Linked DNA regions of Homo sapiens: region 2 is linked to region 1. Evidence: promoter capture Hi-C in 16 types of primary human blood cells and fetal thymus (Javierre and others, 2016). All regions are on one chromosome and are shown on one strand. The core of a region is centred on a gene start or on the middle of the fragment in contact, and the rest is flanking DNA. Distances in the headings are between cores, read along the strand shown. Region 1 holds the start of BMP2 (bone morphogenetic protein 2). Region 2 overlaps HAO1 (hydroxyacid oxidase 1).

What was found. Contacts are between HindIII fragments. The CHiCAGO score rates a contact against its expected background, and 5 or more counts as called.
Region 2: a fragment that was not itself captured here is called in contact with the fragment with the promoter of BMP2 in region 1 in 1 of 17 cell types (endothelial precursors); the score reaches 5.0 in endothelial precursors.

What each region holds. Positions count from the first base shown.
Region 1 is chr20:6,764,718-6,769,986 of GRCh38, reverse strand. It overlaps BMP2 (bone morphogenetic protein 2), which reads right to left and starts at 2,301. Exons shown (of 3, transcript NM_001200.4): 1 at 1,112-2,301. It overlaps LOC105372517 (a long non-coding RNA gene), which reads left to right and starts at 2,503. Exons shown (of 4, transcript XR_937229.2): 1 at 2,503-2,666; 2 at 3,182-3,587; 3 at 3,979-4,135; 4 at 4,318-4,394. RefSeq lists cis regulatory regions at 1,622-1,796, 2,437-2,536, 2,543-3,333, silencers at 2,168-2,217, 2,308-2,357 and promoters at 1,247-2,406, 1,796-2,437, 1,247-5,269. The HindIII fragment of the contact is 17,330 bases long and covers 1-5,269 here.
Region 2 is chr20:7,914,947-7,920,215 of GRCh38, reverse strand. The region is part of intron 2 of HAO1 (hydroxyacid oxidase 1); the gene reads left to right. Among named protein-coding and RNA genes, the nearest start is that of HAO1, 23 kb to the left of the region's middle. The HindIII fragment of the contact is 2,314 bases long and covers 1,441-3,754 here.

The DNA of each region.
Region 1 (5,269 bases), core at 1,052-3,551:
CTAGGTAAGACCGACCGAAGCTCAAACGTTTGGGATAATGAAGGGTCCCAAGTTCCTGAACCAGATGATTTATCGCTCCCATCCAACGCTTAGCTCGTCTGACATCAGATTTGGGATTTGCCCTCCCCCCCAACCAAACCAGCGCCAATGACTGTCACTTTTTTGTGTGTGACACAGCGCTGACAGCCAATGCCGGGAACCTGGGAAAACCACCGCTTGATCTGACACCCTGCGTCCCCTATACAAACCCAAATGCGGAGTGCTGAGCGCTGTCTGGCATATAAACACACATAAATGGTGCATGTGACTTCCTTAGAGGCACTGTATAGAACTTCCTGACACACACACACACACACACACACACACACACACACCCTTATAGCTTCCAGACCCTGTAAGCTCAAGGCCACAACTTCTGAAGCCACTTATGACTTGTGTCCCAGGCCCCTACCCTCAGGGGTGTCTCGAAAGGCAGCTCCATCCCGCATCCCCACAGTGCAGTCAAGATACACATGTATCTTCCCGGGATTACGTAAATGGTGAATATCTATTAATGCACGTGTCAGCTGTTAAAAACACAGTACCAAGTGATCCTTCAGTACTGACCCCTCGCATTTCTGGAAACAAGTAGGGAGAACCCCAAACTCCTAGTACTTTCCTAAATGGGACACGGCTCTGAGCAAAGAAACCAAGTCTCCCGGAAACACTTGAAGAATGGAGATCACCATGGCAGAGCGGACAGGTTCTCAGCTAACGGGTGAAACCCAGGGGCTACCCTCTCAAAGGGATTTCTTTGACCCAAAAAAGTTTTTAAAAAAATTAAAAATAAATAAATAAATAAATAAAACACCTCATCTAAGTGTTAACAGCTCCAAAAGTATTCCAGGGAGAGGGGAAGAAAGAGGGGTGGAAGAGTGCGGGCCGGGAGGGTGAGGCTTACGGTCGCCCGGGGCAGCTGGAAGTGGGAGCCCCTGCAGGGCTCCGTTGCACGTGGACTGGAGAGGGGTCTGTTTACTTCTGGCCTGGACGTAAGGAAGGGCTCTACCGCAGTGGCTGCCCAAATCCCCCTCCCACCCACCACCCACCCCGGGCCCTGGCCCGCGTCCTCTACCTTTAGGAGACCGCAGTCCGTCTAAGAAGCACGCGGGGACACGTCCATTGAAAGAGCGTCCACATGGAAAAACTCTGGTCAAAGGACCTGGCGCAAGGACCGAATGTCCGTTCCTTTTCTTTGCCTCCTCCTTCTCCCGGGTGCCGGCCGCGCAGTCTCTCTTTTCACGCTGGGAACAGCGTCTCAGTGTCGGGCAAGGCCGAGGAGTGGAGGGGCGGTGGGGCTCGGAGATGGCGAAGCAGGCTCCGCTGGGGCAAAGGCACCGGCGCAAAGTGGGGTGCGCAAGTTATTCTCCCTGCAAGTTCAAGAAGTCCCCAGCCAAGTGCTGACACACAACAACAGCGAGCAGGGGGAGGAGTGCGGGGCAGGGAAGGGAAGGGAGAAAGGAGAAGCTGGTGCTGTCGTCCTCCTTAGGAACCAGCGCCCGAGGGACGCGTGGCCCCGCGCGGGGCCGGCTCCGGGACTCGGGGGTCGAGGGTCGGGCGCTCCGCGCTAGCTCCGCCGCGGCCCATGGCTCGGGGCAGCCATCCTGGGCGACGCCGGGTCCAGGGAAGGGCACGGCGGCGATCTCGGTGCCAGGCGAGTTGCCCCCCCGCATCACTCTGCCTTACTCCAGTGCACCCCCATTCGCGCTCGCCAGTTGAAAGCACCGCGGCTCTGGCGCCCCGTCGTCCTCGGGCGCATTCTCCGGCGAGTCGAGCCGAGTCCCGGGCCGCCGAGGCGGGTGGCTGTGCTCTCCCCTCGCTCTCCTAGCCCTGGGGCCAAGTGCCCTTTGTGGCTAGCCTGGGGTCCGATCACACCTCGGCCAGCGCGTCCCAGGCCCCCGATCTCCTGCAGTAGGTGCTCCGCATCGCGGCGCTAGGGATCGGCTCCGGAGTCCCCGGCGCTCTGCGCGCCCGTCCGCGGCTCTGGCGCAGCCCGGGCAGCAGAGGCCACGGCGCTGTGGCGCGCTCTGCCGGGTGCTCCAGCCCGCGCGGGGTCTGCGGCGCGCGGGTGCCTCGCGGTCCCCGGTGATCCACTCGGCGCTGGCCCCGAGAACGTTCGGGTAGCCGGCGGAGGCTGTGGCGGCAGATGTGCGGCGGCGGCTGCCAGTCCCCGGCGGGGTGTGGGAAGCGGAGCGACTAGCGCAGCGCGAGCCGGGCGCAGCGCGGCGGGGCGAGGACTCCGGCGGCGGCGACGGCGGCGGCGGCGCCGTGGCGCGGCGCTCGCGGCTTTTAAAGGGGACGCCGCCTGCCGGCTCCCTCCCGGCCGCGGCCGAACACCTCCCCCTTCGCGGCGCGGCTCGCCGGGGATCCCCGAGCGGGCGGGAGCTGCGCGCAGGGGTGTGGACGGCGCGCCCGGGCAGCCGCGGCGGGGTGGGGCGGAGGGCGGGGGCGCGCGGCCGCCAAGGGGGGCGCTCGCGCCTCCACTCCCTGCTCTCAAAGGAGAGATCAGCTGGCGCGCCGGACCCTCGCGGGGACTCTGGAGGCGAAATCCAGGACAAATGCAGGGTCAGGGTCTGGCCTCTTATTTCCCCGCTGGGCCCGTTATTCAACTTTCAGTTTGAAGTTTTTCGGTAATATACGATTTCAAAAAACAAAACAAAACAAAACACCTCAATTACAGCGTATTTTGGCATAGCATAGACGTGGGATCCACGCTTCTGTTTCCCCGGAATAGGAGGAAAATTAAAAGAAAACAGCAGGCTGGAAATTGAGTGTTTTTAAACATTAATACATAGAGATGTATGTATTTACATATGTAAATGCATGTGTACAAATTTTTTTACATAAATGTGTATGCATTTATTTTCATATCCATACGCATGTAAATTTATAGTTACATAAATATATCCAATATACAAAAATATGTGCATATATTTCTATAAATATATTCATGTATGAGAATATATGCAACCGAAGGGCCACATTTCGGTTAATATGTCTATGTATGTGACATGGATGTCATCCTGCTTTACGTGACATGTGTGTAACGTAGACTGCGTGTGTGGCAGACTGAAGGATGGATGGGAGGGATTTGATTTTTTTATTGTACAATCACTTTGTGCCTTGTGATATTTATCTCACCCAGCTCAGAGGCAGGCGATTAGCAGCTCAGAGGAAGGTAAAATAACGCACTGTGTGAACCAAGCATACAGGACAATTCCAGTTTGGGACCTTGGAACCTTCTACGCCACCCTCTTCCACCAGGCCCCCAAGAAGTAGGGCTGTGACACGTGGCCAAGTCACTCCTCAGCTGAATATTCACTGAAGTCACTCCTCAGCCGAAATACTGCTCAGAGCTGCTGCACGATGAGTCTGGGGCCAAGGCTTTCTGCCCTTCCCAGGATTCCAGGAGCCCCCATGCACAGCACCTCGGGCTTGCCCAAATGATCCCCAAAACCAAGGGCAGAAAATTTTTGGAAAAGGCCAAGTTCTGCTTTCCCAGAGCTATCGGGCCTGCGAAACAGAGAGAAAAAAGTCAGAAGCAGGAGCTGGTAATAGAACTATTATCCATGTGTATTATTTTTTCGGTAGGGGAGCTAAAATAATACTAGGTTCCGCTCACGTAAATCGGATTAGCAACCCACAGAGGCGAATTAGGCACTTGCTGTTTCTAAAGGTATAAAGGTCAAATAAGGTATTTTGGAGGAAGCCTGACTACCAGGAAAATAAAAGGGGGTGGGGGAATTATTCAGGAACATGCTACTTTATTTCCTGAAAAAAAAAAAAAAGGTGCTATAGAAGTTGATTGTCACTCAGAGTCATTGCACCGCAAACAAGGAGGCAATAAAACATATCCTACTCATGGACACAGGGCTTCTGAAATTATTTCCTTTCCTATCAAGTTTAATTGAGAAGTTAACAATTGTTTCTCTCATTACTTAGATTTCAAAAACAAAACAAAACAAAACTTCAATGAGATTTAAGTAGCTTTTAAAGAGGAGGAAAAGTTGATAACTATTGGATGCACCCGAAGAAAAAATAAATAAATATCCTGTGATGACCTCAAGGATGTCTTGCAGCTTTAGAACTTCATAACCTGGTAAGTGGAAACCTTGTCAGTTTAGAATCTGAGGGAAAATGGGTACTTCTGAACACTGTTTCATGTTAGTGCTGCCCATTGCAGAATCTCTTTTATGTAGGGTGTATGATTTCTGAGGAACTACTGAATGCTTGTTCCAAGCACAACTTACATAAATTTTGGCCCTATTTTTTTTTTTTTAGAGATGGCTGCCCTCTTGTGGTGGAAATGAGTTCGAACGCTTGAAAGAAAGAAGTCCATAAATAAATAAATAAATAAATAAGTAGTCTCCAGAGACTGATTTGGGATCGAAGTACAGGATGACTGTACCTACCCGTTTTCCAGGGAAGAGCAATAGTCAGAAATGATAAATCTAAATACAGACGAGCTATTTCTTTTTTTTTTCTCTCTCTTCACTAATGGCTACCTTCCACCTGCAACTTAGAATGCTGGGTTATTTAATACTTTGGGAGAGTGTCTGTTTGCCTTGAAAATATCACTTGCAGCTAACCATTGTCAATTCTACCGTTTTCAAAGGTCCATTCAAAGTTTTTCAGTTCAGAGGGTGAGATTCAGTCTTGCTGAGTTTATCAGACTTAGTGCATCTGCCAGCAAATGTGGAAGGGGCAGAGGTGGGAGTGGGGAGTTGTTTAAGATAGGGATAGTAGAAGTTGCAAATTCAAATGCATCAGAGGGTACAGACAAGTTATGTAAAAAAGCAAAGATGACCAGATAATGATTCCACATAAAGGAGGTTGTTGCTATTCCATTTCAGTCATCTCTTGGCAGTTTCTCAGGAGATAGTGGAAATTTGCATTTGATTGTGTGTGGACAAGACTCGGGATGAAATTAACTGCTTACAGTCATACTTTAGCAATTTTAGCACTTCAGCTCACATGATATTCCATTTTATTGCATTCTGTAGCTATTAGCATTCAGTATTGTTCTTGCTAGGCCAAACATTATGCAAATCAACATTAAAATAGTGATCCCCATGTATTGTAAAGTTCACAGCAGGCATTACGTGATCCATCTACCTTGTAATTGTCATTCCATGGAAACCTGTGGCAACTGCCCTGAGAAACCCTCTTTGCTTTTTAGCATACATATCGCTTTGTTACAAGGGTGACACCCATAACCATCCCTACTTACTTT
Region 2 (5,269 bases), core at 1,348-3,847, 1.1 Mb before region 1:
GAAGGGGGAAGAGTCCCTTATAAAACCATCAGATCTCGTGTGAGCTCACTCACTAGCATGAAAACAGCATGGAGGAAATCACCCCTATGATCCAATCACCTCTTTCCCTCAACACATGGGGATTACAGTTCCCTGCCTTGATGCGTGGGATTAAAATTTGAGATAAGATTTGGGTGGGGACACAAAGCCAAACCTTATCAGTTGGTGAGGTGATGAATATGGTCATTAGCTTGTCTAAATTTGTCTGCAATGTATACATAGATCAAAACATCACTTTGTACCCCATAAACATGTGCAATTACTATTTTCCAATTAAAAATAAATATAAATAAATTAAAAATAATTGCAAAGGAAAGCTGGCTGTGGAGAAGATTAACAAATAATGACATTAAGAAATTCAGGTCCTTGGCAAAATTAGAAATACATACAAAGCTATCCAGAACTTATTTTTCCAAATGCATTAGGCGTCCTCTCACCTTACCCTTTACAATTGCATGGCTTCAGAGATTACACAGAAAACGTTCAGAAACATTGCCCCAGTAGATGATCTTGCAATGCTATGAAGTAGGCAGAACAGCTGTGGCTATAGCAATTGTGCAGATAGAACGTACTTCATGGATGGCAAGACTGGGACTCTAGGACAGGCTTTCAATCCATTCTACCCTGTTGTTGTTCTGAAATGAAAGTTTTATCTCCCAGTTTATATAGGTAGCCTTATCTTTGATGCTTCAATACCTGAGACCTGGCCAGTGTCCCTTTTAGTGATTGTATGTGTGTGTGTGTGTGTCATATGCAATTTCCTTATAGCAATGGCACAGTGTATCACTGTTTAATTAAAGAAGAGAAAGAAATGCCAAACATACGAATAAAGTCTGAATATATCTGTAACATTAAAAGTGTAGGTGTCTATCTTTGAAGATATGTCTTAAGGACAATGAAAGAGTCAGTGAGTAAGAGAAGAGAGTCCTGGGATTTCATACAAGATCAGTGTTACTTGATGGTGTAGGCTCCTAGGTATTTCATCTTTAGGATATACCGTCTATTACAAAAGCCAAGATTTTTAGATTTGGATCAACATTAGGGAACTTCATTCTAGGCAAGAGCCAGGTTTTGCCTTTATGTTAATATGACCTCAGCTGTGAGCTCCATTTTGCCAGGCATCTTAAAACTGCAACACATATCATTGGAATCTTCCGTTACAGTCTAATACATAGCCACACATTGGGAGCAAGAATGAAATCCAACCCCTGTCCTTTGCAAAATGCAATGAGACAGTGTCTGCTTTGGGAGCAGGGAGTCAGAATTTCATTGTGGACAATGGATAAGGTGAGTAAAAGGGCTTAAAACATTTGTGCTTTCAAGCCATAGGCTAGGATAACGATAGTCAGAACTTTTTGATGAAGTCTGACCATGCTACGCCATTTATAAAATTTTGAAGCTTGTAAGTATTACCCCAAAATGAGCAGTGTGAACTCAAAGGGTTTATCATTGTCTCTCAGGCAAAGGTAATATTTGAATTATTTAGCAAAGGACTTTGAGCAATTGGAAGAGATACTCAGCTGCTGGTCTCTAGCGCTCTAACAGGGTGGATGCCCCCCGCTCTGCCGGCACTGATGTTTAAGTTGCTGGATTATGAGGAAGTCTGGGGATTCCTTGGGGAGAAAAGGAAGTGATGACATATTGAAGCACAACGACATATTGAAGAGACTCGGGGGCTGGGGTGATAAACTTCAGAGCCGTGGCTATTTACCAATTGGAGTGTAAGTATTTTAATATTTTAACAAACATAATTGCCATTCTGGTATGTACCAACTTCATCTCAGATCTGTCCTTAAGAAATAGGCAAATTCTTTATTGCCTCTCTGAATGGTTCATATAAATTCCCAGGCTCCCTTAGCTCATTCTAACATAAAACTGTATTAAAAATAATGAATGTAATTCATCAATAATTTTCCTTTGTCATAGCAAATAGTCACAAGTGGATTGAGATCAGAGTGATCACTCATATTTGTTCTGGGGAGAAGGGAGCCTGCTGTTTTGCTCCTGTTTTCTCCTAGGACTAGTATTTTAGCTTCAAATGATAATACCTTAGCACAGACTCTGATATTCCTCCTACATGCAGGAGCATTCTCTTGGAATAATTTTGGGGATGCCAATTCAAAATTTCAGCCATGTATGATTTACTTATTGGAAAATAATCACTGAGCAGCAATAACTCCAGCAGTTACTTGTATCAAGGTAGAATCAAGAAATAGATGGTATGGACCAAACTTGCTTCTCTCTAAATATGCATACCCAAGTGATTTGGGTAAAATGTTTGTGAAGGGCTTACATTTCCTGCAAGTCAGATGGTTTAAGAGAAGTAGAAATTATGTGTGTTTTGCAGCATTTTGGTAATCTGTGTGGAGTGTCTGTAGATATTTCTCATGAGTTCAAGGGAATCCTTTTGTGGATTTTGATGTTCCTATTGGCAGAGCTGCTGCTTGACTACATGATGTCTTTGTATTAACTACAAAAACATGCCCTATCATCTGAGTGATTTTCTCTGCCAGACCCCTTTGTGCATCCACACTCTGCACCTCCAGTGTACGGAGGACCTTCCCACTGGATTCTAAGATTCCATGCCTTCCCAATGCATGGCAGTGTCTCTCATGCACATGGCAAACCTACTCTCTTGGATGTCACTGCCCTGAAATATTGAGGGAGTACATTTATCTAGGCATGGTACCAGGGAGTCATTTAGACATGTAGGGAGTCTAGAAAGATCATTGCCCTGGGAGAGTGCTCAGCCATGCTGAGTTCTCCTACTTTGTTGCTCATTTCTGTGTGACCTTAGGTAACATCCTCTTCAGGACTTTTTTTTTTTTTTTTTTTTTGACAGGGAGTCTCATTCTGTCATCCAGGCTGGAGTACAGTGGTGTGATCTCAGCTCACTGCAATCTCCGCCTCCTGGGTTCAAGCAATCCTAGTGCTTCAGTCGCCTGAGTAGCTGGGATTACAGGCATGCGCCACTACGCCCAGCTAATATTTGTATTTTCAGTAGAGATAGGGTTTTATCATGTTGATCAGGCTGGTCTTGAACTCCTGACCTCAAGGGATCTGCCTACCTTGGCCTCCCAAAGTGCTGGGATTACAGATGAGAGCCACCAACCCTGGCCAGGACATAATTTATTTCAGGTGAATTGATTGTTGGAGGATTTTGATCCAAGCAATCAATGTCCCTTGGTGTTCCTTTCAAACAGCAGTAAGTGACCTGAATTTATTTTCCACATTTCCAAATCTTAATGAAAATCAGACAATGGTCTATATGTTCATTTGTGTTCTTACTTAATAAAATGTGGGTTTTAGACAATATTTTGCCAGTCATGAATTCCTATAGAAGGAACTCTTTGGGAGAACAGACTAGTGATCTATAGACATGATGACCTCCAACTCAGATCTTCTGTAGCTAACCACTGACCGGGAGAACATGTATGAAAAACATCTTCAAAGGCATTGAAAAATTAACATTTATCAAAAACAAAATACATTTTATTTCATTTGAACTTAGACCTTTACTATCTAATGGCTATGGTACTATTTAAATGTCAAAGTGTGATCTAGCATCAGCCTAATCTGGTTAGAAATGCAAACTCTTGGGCCACATCTCAGACTTACTGGACCAGAAGCTCTGTGGGTGGGACCCAGAAATCTGTGTTTCATTCACATGCCCTCCAGGGGATTGTCCTGCTAAAGTTTGAGAATCATGGAAGCTTTTTAACCTCTCATTATAGCTTTATAAGCAGCAACTCACTGGATTCCTATCAACATCCTGTGAGTGTCATTTGGACAAGTATATTTATACCCATTTGATGCATGGTAGGCACACAGATGAGTCAAATGACTTGAAGGAATAGAGTTTTACATAATATACTTTTATATATTTATACTTCTAATATATTTATACTTTATAACAGATTTGACTGTTTTATATATTGCATATAAACATTATATCAGTTTCTCCTCCACTAAGGCTGACTCCAATTTTACTCCAATTTTACTACCAATTTTTGGAAGAAAGCCTACCTATCACTCATGTTCTCTCAAGTACCCTCTAAAACTATTAGTTAGATGACTCTATTTAATTTTCCATTTATTTGCCCGTTTCTTGCTACCTTTCCCCCCAAAATGTAACTGCTACCTTGCTCAAAAGGATGTGTCTACTTGGGATATCTAGCACACACATTTTATGAGATTTTAAAAGACAACATAAATGGTAAACTATATATTTAATACAATTTTGAAAGACAAAATTTTAAAATTAAAAAGGAAGAAAAAAATTAAACTAACCCCATAATTCTCCCACCCATCATTAGCATGTAGTTTGTTTAGATTCATCTACCAATAAGTAGAATTGTACAAATTTGATATCATGTAATACATGTCATTTTGTAAACTTTTTTCTTTCCTTAATATATCTATATATCATAAACATTTTTCTATGTCTATATTATTTTAAAATTGTAATACCCAGAGTTCTCCAGAGAAACAGAATTAATAGGATCTCCCCCTTGGAGATTTCTCATCTTTTTCTCTCTCGATAGATACAGATAGATACATACATAAGTCTATCTCTCTATCTCTATCTTTATCTCTAAAACACCTATCCATAGATAGACATTTTTAGGAATTGGCTCATGTGTTTGTGGAAGCTTGCAAGTTCAAATGTGCAGAGTAGGTGGGCAAGCTACCAGGGAAATGTTGATGTTGCAGTTCCAGTCTGAAGGCAGGCTCCTTGCAGAATTCTTCTTTTTCTTAGCAGTCTTACTTCCCCTTCCTCTTCCCCTTCTCCTTCCCCTTTCCCTTCTTCTTCTCCTTCCCCTTCTTCTTATTCTCCTTCACAGACTTATTTTTAAGGCCTTGAGCTGATTAGATAAGACCCACTCACATTATGAGGGATAATCTGCTTTACCTGTAGTCTACTAATTAAAATGTTAATCTCATCTAAAAAACACCTTCATAGCAGCATTCAGACATGTTTCACCAAATATCTGGGCACCATGGTTTAGCATATTGATGCAGAAAATTGATTATCATAATAATATTATTTTTTTTTGAGATGTAGTTTCACTCTTGTCACCCAGGCTAGAGCGCAATGCTGCAATCTCAGCTCACTTCAACCTCTTCCTCCTAGGTTCAAGCGATTCTCCTGCCTCAGCCTCCTGAGTAGCTGGGACTACAGGCGCCCATGACCACGCCCGGTTAATTTTGTGTTTTTTTAGTAGAGATG